Regions from separate parts of the Homo sapiens genome. Here all the other regions are linked to region 2. Evidence: promoter capture Hi-C in 16 types of primary human blood cells and fetal thymus (Javierre and others, 2016). All regions are on one chromosome and are shown on one strand. The core of a region is centred on a gene start or on the middle of the fragment in contact, and the rest is flanking DNA. Distances in the headings are between cores, read along the strand shown. Region 1 overlaps CFAP54 (cilia and flagella associated protein 54). Region 2 holds the start of ELK3 (ETS transcription factor ELK3). Region 3 overlaps CFAP54 (cilia and flagella associated protein 54).

Region 1 (2,849 bases), core at 278-2,777, 310 kb before region 2:
ATCCAGAGAATAATGCAGTAAGTTGCAACTTTAAAATAGAGAAAAGCAAGTATTACATTTTTTAGCTGAGAGTCATTTCTTCAGACATACACATAATGTACATATGTGTGTGTGTATGTGTGTGTGTGTGTGTGTGTGTGTATGTGTGTGTGTGTGTTCCTCAGCAGTCCTCACTCAAAATAAAAGTAGGAGGAGGTCACTTTGTAGAAACCCAAAGCCAAGTTGTTTGAGGACAGGGCCAGTAAATGGGTGATGCTTAGAGCCAATCTAACCCGCACTGGTTCTTTGACCCTTCTCCATCTATATTTACTTGTTAACTGCGGCCCTGCTTTTTGAACACCCAACAGTGATTATTCCCACAGTCTCTGACCCTTTCCCCAGTGAAAACCCAAAGACATGCTTTATCCATCCCAATTTACGAGGACAAACATGTCACACGAATGTTGAAAAAAATATATTCATCCTATTATGAAATGCGTATGTTTTAAATCACAAGGTACTCAAGCTACTGTCAAACTTAGCATTGAAGTAACTTTCTGAAAGACACAATGGAAAATAAAATACATCAGCATATACCATTGAAGATAATCCAGCAAAGATGCTCTTGTGGCAGAGCCACTTGCATGATGAGCCTTAAGGAGGACAAGATATGCAGACACTGGACCACAGATTCTTTATTCTTCAGGTTTTCATCACTGTCGCAGACCAGCTGGTAGTTGCACATATTTTTGCCACTCAAAGCATGAAACTGAAACACATGGGAAAATAGAAATAGAAATAGAAATAACTGGCCAGGAACAGTAGCTCACACCTGTAATCCCAGCACTTAGGGAGGCCAAGGTGGGCAAATCACCTGAGGTCAGGAGTTTGAGACCAGCCTGGCCAACATGATGAAATCCTGTCTCTACTAAAAATACAAAAATTAGCTGGGCGTGGTGGCACATGCGTGTAATCCCAGCTACTCAGGAGGCTGAGGCAGGAGAATCGTTTGAACCTGGGAGGCAGAGGTTGCAGTGAGCCAAGATCGTGCCACTGCATTCCAGCCTGGGTGACAAGAGAGAAACTCCATCTCAAAAAAAAAAAAAAGAAAAGAAAAGAAAGAAAAAGAAGGAAGAAATAGAAATAACTTAGGAAAGCATTTCTCAAAATGTAAAAAACTAAAATGGAAACAATTATGGATAATTAATTTAATAGATTAGTGTAAAAAAAAAAAGATAGGTTTCTTTAAAACATCCATCTAGTTAAGACTAGCTTTCCTTAGTCACAAGAAATTCAGAAAGAAAAACAAATCCTATTACCAAAAATACAGAATTGAATCAATTTTTTTTTTTTTTTTTTGAGACGGAGTCTTGCTCTGTCTCCCAGGTTGGAGTGCAGTGGCTGACCTCGGCTCACTGCAAGCTCCACCTCCTGGGTTCACGCCATTCTCCTGCCTCAGCCTCCTGAGTAGCTGGGACTACAGGTGCCCGCCACCACGCCTGGTTACTTTTTTGTATTTTTAGTAGAGACGGGGTTTCACCGTGTTAGCCAGGATGGTCTCGATCTCCTGACCTCGTGATCCGCCTGCCTCGGCCTCCCAAAGTGCTAGGATTACAGGCGTGAGCCACCGCGCCCGGCCAGAATTGAATCAATTGTTATAAGCTCCCCAGTGGCATTTTAACTTATTTATTAATTCAGATGTGATTATAACCATTTACACAATTCACTCAACAAATGTTTCTTGAGCACCTCTATTAGCCACACTCTGCTAGGCAACAGAGACTCTAGGATGAGGAAGAAACGGACACTGCTCTTAGAGGAGGGAAAACAGTTACAGGCTCATGCACCAGGCTCATGCAGCATTGAAGGGACTGCTGCGGTCACTGAATTGAAAGTATTTTGTAAGGTTGGATGAGATGGTTTAAAATAAAGAAGTGAGGCCAAGGCAGGCAGATCACTTGAGGTCAGGAGTTCGAGACCAGCCTGGCCAACATGGAGAAACCCCATCTCTACTAAAAATACAAAAATTAGCCAGGCATGATGGTGCGCACCTGTAATCCCAGCTACTCAGGAAGTTGAGGCAGGTGAATCACTTGGGCCCAGGAGGCGGAGGCTGCAGTGAGCCAAGACTGCACCACTGCACTCCAGCTTGGGCAACAGAGTGAGCCTCGGTCTCAAAAAAAAAAAAAAAAAAGTGAGGCTATTATAGGGGTGACCCAGGCTCAGAAAAAGAGAGAGAGCATTCCATGTATTCCAAGGAATTTGGACTTTAGCCAAAAGGCAAAGTCAATGGGTAGTGGAACAAAATGACAGGTTTCTACTTTAGAAATTAATTGGCCAGGCACGGTGGCTCACACCTGTAATCCCAGCACTTTGGGAGGCCAAGGAGAGTGGATCATGAGGTCAGGAGTTTGAGACCACCCTGACCGACATGGTGAAACCCCATCTCTACTAAAAATACAAAAATTAGCCGGGCATGGTGGTATGCGCCTGTAATCCCAGCTACTAAGGAGGCTGAGGCAGGAGAATTGCTTGAACCTAGGAGGCAGAGGTTGCAGTGAACTGAGATCATGCCACTGCACTCCAGCCTGGGCAACAGAACAAGACTCCAAAAAAAAAAGAAGAAAAGAAAGGAAAGAAAGGAAGAAAGGAAGAAAAGAAAGAAAGAGAAGAAAAGAAAAAGAAAGAAAGAAAGAAAGAAAAAGAAAGAAGAAAGAAAGGGAAAGAAAGAAAGAAAGAAAGAAAAAGAAAGAAAGAGGAAGAAAGAAAAATAAATTCTGGCAAAATATGAAAAGCAAAAAGCAGAAGGTAGGGGGTCAAGGCTACAAAAAGGGGAGTAGGAGAGACCTTTTCCCTAACAGGGTGCCAAC
Region 2 (3,248 bases), core at 369-2,868:
AAAACAACTCAGCCTCCCCTTTCCCCGCCACCCCCAGGCTGGAGGACTGGGGTGGGGGTAGTTAAAGACCGGCCAGGGGCTTTCAAATGAGGGAGGGTGGGAGGGGGCTGGCGGGGAAGGGGCGGGGGACCCCTCGAACACTACAAAGGAAACTGTAAAAGGCACAAATACATAAACCTAAGAAGGAGCAAACCACAGTTTCTTTGTGAGCTCCTCTAGTGAGTCATTTTCAAGATGCTGTCTGCTGCCAGTTTCAAAGCGGAAGCGCATGGCAATTAGTCTTGCCGTTTCCAGACAAGCCAGAAACTCTCCCGACACTCGTTTTTTTTTCTTTCTAAAAAGCCCCTTTTGCAGTTTCTGAAATAACATTTCTTGCTTCCACCTCCACCCGCCGCCTAACTGCAGCTTGTCCCTAGGATGATTCGGTTCAGAAAAGATAACAAAACCAAGACCTTTTATTTTTGCTTTTTAACTACTCCAAAATCTTAATCCCGCCTCCCCAAAAGTTACAGTAGCGTCACAGGCCAACGTTGAGTTCGAAGGTAAACAGGGATGGGGAGTGGAAGGGGCCCCAAGATCATTTCTTGCCTGGTCCTTCTCCAAAACCATGCCCAATAGAGACCACCGGCTTTTAAATGTCCGATGGGGCGTGCGCCTGGGGCGGTGACCTGGGCGGGGGTCACCTGCCAAGCGAGAGTGGACGCAGCCCCCAGCCCCACACCTTCGCGACCCATGTCCTCCACCGCCCTCTCCATCCCTGTCTTCCTCCCTGGATCCGAGCACCAGTGCACTTTGCCCACTCGAGGGGAGCCTGACTGCGGTCCCAGCTGGAAGGTCGGCGGTGGTCCAGCCTCCAGGCACTCAGCCTGCTCCTGCCACGGTTCTTCCCAGGGACCCGAAGTCTCGCCGTCCCCCGCTCCCCGCGCTGCCTGCAGCGGGGCCCTGGGCGAGCTCCCAGGGTTGCACGCCCGGCGCCCCTTCCTCTGGGGTCGCAGCGCAGCCCCAGGGAGGGGAGCCGCGGGCGCAGGGTCCCCGCAGCCCCGGGCCCGGCGCGAGCTCGGGCGACGGCGGTGGCAGCGACGCGGGCGCAGGAGCATCCGCGGCGCCCCCTCCCCGCGGCCGGCCCTCCCGCGCGGACGCACCGCCACCCCCACCCCGGCCCGCAGCCCACCCCGCGGCGCCCCCCGCCCCACCCCCACCGCGCCCAAGAAAAGAAAGAAAAAAAGAAAACACCCCCAAACAAACTTTTTAAGTGTCCGAGCAACAGGCAGAAGCCCTGTTACCTACCCAGATGTGGGGGAGTCTTCTTCGGGGGGAATTTCTAGGAGGACCCGGGCGAAAGCCCCCGACTTTCCATGCTGACAGGCGTCTGCAGACGGTCTGTGGCTCTTGTAATGAGATCCTGATTTTTCCCCCTTTTTTTCTTTCTCTCGCTCCTCTTTTTTTTTCCCCTCTGGTGTGTGTGAGAGCAGGAAGTTGGAGCAGTCAGGCCGAGCCGGCTCACTTCCTTTACTGCATTATTCCCCAGGCGGTGTGCAGTCTGTGTAAACAGGCTTTTCCGCCCCGCGCCGCGCGCCCCGGCCGCGGCTGTGCGCCGGGGCTGGCCGCCCAGGCCCGCGCCTCCCCCGCCGCCCCGGCCCCGTGCGCGCCCCGCACCGCCCCCACCCGCCCCGCTTCCTGCGCGGCCACCCCGGGGAGGAGCCTCCGACCCGCGGCGACTCCGCGCGGCCGCAGCCCCTCCCCACGGGGAGGGGGGTCCGCCCGCAACCCGCAGAAGCCGCCGCGCTTCCCGGGACACCGGGGATCCCTCCTCACCTCAACCCCTGGGGGTCGAGCGCGCGGGGCACCACGACGGGGTCGTGCCCTGCGCAGTTGGCCCGGGAGGGGGGTCCCGAGGTGGGGAGGCGGCTGGACTCGCTGTTTCCCATCCGCTGGGATGGAAGAGTTGGGGGGCAGAGGGGAATCGAGAGTGGGGTTCAGGGTTTGGTTGCTCTGGGCAAAGGACTGCTTTTCTTGTGGGTGCGGGCACAGTTTCCGTCTGGGGTTGGAGATGGACACCGTTCCTGTCTGGGTTTTCGGTGTTTTAAAAGCCAGCCCTCGGCCGGGCGTGCTGGCTCACGCCTGTAATCTGAGCACTTTGGGAGGCCAAGGCGGATGGATCACCTAAGGTCAGGAGTTCGAGACCAGCCTGGCCAACACGGCGAATCCCCGTCTGTACTAAAAATACCAAAACAACAACAACAAAAACAGCCAGGTGTGGTGGTGGGTCCCTATAATCCCAGCTACTTGGCAGGCTGAGGCGAGAGAATCGCTTGAACCTGGGAGGCAGAGGTTGCAGTGAGCTGAGATCGCCCCATTGCACTCCAACCTGGGCAACCAGCGAAACTCCGTCTCAAAAAAATAAAAAAGCCAGCCCTCAGTTGGGGGGCGAGCCTGTGGGGAAAGGATAAGGAGCCACAACACTGGAAGTCATGGAAATAATGCCCGCAGGGTCAGAGACTGAGGCTTGAAGGGAGCCTCTGTGGTCTCAGAACTGGTCTTCACACCTCCACATCCCTCAAGGAGGTCCTGCCTCTGAGGGCTCAGGCCAGGCTCTGATGGGAGAGCCTGCCCATTGCCCTAGGCTGAGACAAGGTTGGGGGGGATGGCTGTTGAAGAGCCTCTCCCTTCCCAGGCCTGCGCCCCAACCTCACTGCTCACCTTCCAGAACCTTCCATTCCCATGCCGCCACTTAGCAGCCCAGACCCCTGGTTTTCAAACTTGACCCAAGGGGCTTGTTAAACCACTAGTGGCTGGGCCTCTCCTGGAGTCCCAGATTCAGTAGGTCGGGGGTGGTTCCGGGCCCCGGCTAATGTCAGAATCACCTGGGGAGTGTTTTGACACTCTCCAACAATATACTCAACCCAGGCCAATTAAGTCAGATTCTCTGGGGGCCGGGTGTGAGTCCTTTCAAAAGGACCACATTCTAAGAGTTCCTCCACTACGTTTGTTTCTAGTTTTGCAGTCTCTCCTGAAAGATTATTTTGTTTACAAATTTCTCACTGCCATCAACTGTGAGCTGCTAAAGGGCACGGGGTATGTTTTACTGATTAGTACCACATCCCAGCTCCAAGTGCCTATCAGAGCACACAGGTGATAGGAATTTCCTTCGGGCATTTGCTTCAGGGCTCCTGTGGGTAGTCCACTGGAAAGGGTGGGAGAATGCCCTCCAGACCTCTGAGAAGGAGTGGGAAACCCGTGGGGTGTAG
Region 3 (3,142 bases), core at 182-2,681, 340 kb before region 2:
GAACAGAGAGAATCAAAGATGAAATTCGTGACCTGAAAAATCAGATAGAGGAAGCTTCCCAGAATGCAACAGAATAAAGACATGAAAAGAATAAAATAAATAAGACATGGAGGATGAACATCTATCCTGTTAACATCTGTCTAATGGCATCTTCAATGCCTTGAAGGATTTTTTTTTTAAATAATGAATATAAGGAAAGAAATTTAAAAGTAACATGAAAAAATGAAAGAAAGATATGACCTCAAAGTATCTGCTGCATTACTAAACCCACCCCTAGATCCAGTAGAATAAAATGTAAGAATGTCATAAGAAAGAGAAAATTGTAAAAGATACATCTATAAAACAACAAGATTTAAACTGACATTACACTTCTCAACAGAAACACTATATATACAAGATTATAAAAAAGAGCATCAAAATCTTAAAGAAACTTGTAAGTAAACTATTATATCCAGCCAAACTACTTCAAAATTCTTAGAGTTTGTATTTCAGCAAAAAGAAATGAATTTAGAAAGAAGCAATGAAAAATGGGAAGTAATGATGAGGAGAAAAAAATCTTAATAAAGGTATTTTCTGTCTTAAAAAGCAATGACCAGGACTTGTATTCAGAACATAAAAAGAGCTCTCAAAACTCAAGAGAAATAATTAACAATCCAATTAGAAAGTGAACAAAAGACACTAGAGAAAAAGAGAGTATACAGATGGGAAATAAACACATGAAAAACTGTTTAACATCTTTAGCCATTAGGGAAATGCAAATTAAAGTCACAGTGGGATATTACTACACACCTATCAGAATGGCTAAAATAAAAAAGTAATGATACACCAAATTCTGTCAAGGATGTCCAGAAACTGGATCATTTACACATTGCTGGTGGAAATATAGTAGAGTCACCCTGGAGAATAGTATGACAGGTTCTCACAAAACTAAATATGAACTTATCATATATCCAATCCAGCAATTGCACTGTTGAGCATTTTATTCCAGAGAAATGAAAACTTACCTTCACACAAAAACTTGTACTCAACTGTTCATAGCAGCTTTATTTCTAGTAGCCAAAAACTGGAAATAATTCAAATGTCCTTCAAAGGGTAAGTGGTTAAACAAACTGTGGTGTATCCATACCATAAAATAATACTCAGCAGTAACAAGTGAAAAAAAATTTTTTTTGAGACAGAGTCTTGTTCTGTCCCCAGGCTGGAGTGCAGTGGTGGTGGTGTGATCTCCATTCACTGCAACCTCTGACTCCTGGATTCAAATGATTCTTTTGCCTCAGCCTCCCAAGTAGCTGGGACTACAGGCACATGCCATGACGCCTGGCTAATTCTTGTATTTTTAGTAGAGACAGAGTTTCGCCATGTTAGCCAGGCTGGTCTTGAACTCCTGGGCTCAAGGGATCAGCTCGTCTTGGCCTCCCAAAGGGCTGGGGTTACAGGCATGAGCCATGGTACCCCGCCAAGTGAACTATTAATACACACAACCTGGATACATCTCAAGAGAATTATGCTGAGTGAAAAAACAGACAACACACATACGGCCACCTAATTTATGACTAAGGGATACTGCAGCCAACTAAAGGAAGTTATCTTCAATAAATGGTGCTGTGTCAACTGAATATACATATAGAAGTATATAAATCTTGATTTCTACTTCGTATAAACAAAAAAGATCTAATTTCTAATTATAGACCTCATAAACTTAAGGAAGAAACAATAAAACTTATGGAAGAAAACATACGAGAATATATTTACGACATTGGGGTAGCTGAAACTTCTTAACCACAACACACAAAGGATCAACTATATAGGATATATTGATAAATTGGACTATATTAAAATTAAGAATTTCTGTTCCCCAATGGATATCATTAAGAGAATGAAAAGGCAAGCCATCAAGTAAGAAATGATATTTGCAATACATGTATTCAATAAAGGAATTATATCCAGAATAGATAAAGAATTCCTATGAATCGACAGAAAAAAGGACAAAAGGTTAAAATAGGCACCTCACAAAATAGGATATCCAATAGTGAAAAAAGTATATGAAAAAGTGTTTAACTTTATTAGTCATCAGAGAAATTTAAGTTTATACTGCAACACCACTGAATTCACACCAAAATGGACAAAATGAGAAAGACAGATAATACTAAGTGTCAGAGAAAATTTGGAGTAATGGAACCCTGATAAAATGTTGATGGGTGTGCAAACTAAAAAAAACCACTTTGTAAAACAGTATCCAATGAAGCAACATGGGAATATCCCATGCTCTTGCAATTCCACACCAACAGAAATGCATAGCAGATGTTTAACATATTTCTCTGAGTAATTCATAAAATAAAAAGACAAAAACTATCAGTAGGGATAGAGAAGATCTAACCACATGATTTACTAGCTTAACTTAATCAACATATATATAAAGCAATGCATCCAACAACAACAAAAAATACATAGTCTTTCAAGTACACACAGACTATTTACCAAAGCTGGTCATGTGCTAGGCCATAAAGCCTATCTTAACAAATGTTCACAGTTCCAAATAATACATAATGTGCTCTCTGACCATAGTATAATTAACATAGAAATCAGTAACCAAAAGATAATTAGAAAATCTCCCATATTTTGGTTCAGAACCCATATATCAAAGAATAAATCACACTGCGTATTAGAAAATATTCTTACTCCAATAGTAATAAAGATATGATATATCAAAACTTCAGATACATAGCTAAAGCTGAATTTAGAACAAATGTCTTAATATGCATTTAATGTAAATAATAACAAATCCTAAAAATCAATGATCTAAGCTTCCAAGTCAATAAGTTTTTTAAATCAGTAAAGCAAACCCAAGAAAGTATAATAAAGGAAGTAATGAAGAGCAAAAATCAATAATATGGAAAATGGACATACAATAGGGAAGATCAACAAGGTCAAATATTGTTTCTTTGCAAAGACTAATGAAACTGGTGGACCCCTGGTGAAATTGATGAAATAAGAGAGAAAGCAAACTGACCAATACTGAAAAGAAAATCTGAAAAATTTTATATCTATGGAGGAAATTGAATTCATCATTTAAAATATTGCCATACAAAAAATTCCAGGTACAGATGGCTGCACCAGAAAATTCAACTAAACATGTAGGAAG

The links. Contacts are between HindIII fragments. The CHiCAGO score rates a contact against its expected background, and 5 or more counts as called.
Region 1: a contact is called between a fragment that was not itself captured here and the fragment with the promoter of ELK3 in region 2, in 10 of 17 cell types (non-activated CD4 T cells, total CD8 T cells, total CD4 T cells and 7 more). The highest score is 12.7, in non-activated CD4 T cells.
Region 3: a fragment that was not itself captured here is called in contact with the fragment with the promoter of ELK3 in region 2 in 4 of 17 cell types (total CD4 T cells, total CD8 T cells, naive CD4 T cells and 1 more); the score reaches 8.9 in total CD4 T cells.

Annotation. Positions count from the first base shown.
Region 1 is chr12:96,504,827-96,507,675 of GRCh38, reverse strand. It overlaps CFAP54 (cilia and flagella associated protein 54), which reads right to left. Exons shown (of 68, transcript NM_001306084.2): 4 at 577-748. Among named protein-coding and RNA genes, the nearest start is that of CFAP54, 17 kb to the right of the region's middle. The HindIII fragment of the contact is 3,540 bases long and covers 1-2,849 here.
Region 2 is chr12:96,192,745-96,195,992 of GRCh38, reverse strand. It overlaps ELK3 (ETS transcription factor ELK3), which reads right to left and starts at 1,618. Exons shown (of 5, transcript NM_005230.4): 1 at 1,288-1,618. RefSeq lists an enhancer at 243-322 and a silencer at 1,654-1,793. The HindIII fragment of the contact is 11,050 bases long and covers 1-3,248 here.
Region 3 is chr12:96,528,524-96,531,665 of GRCh38, reverse strand. All of the region lies in intron 9 of CFAP54 (cilia and flagella associated protein 54), which reads right to left. Among named protein-coding and RNA genes, the nearest start is that of CFAP54, 41 kb to the right of the region's middle. The HindIII fragment of the contact is 2,750 bases long and covers 57-2,806 here.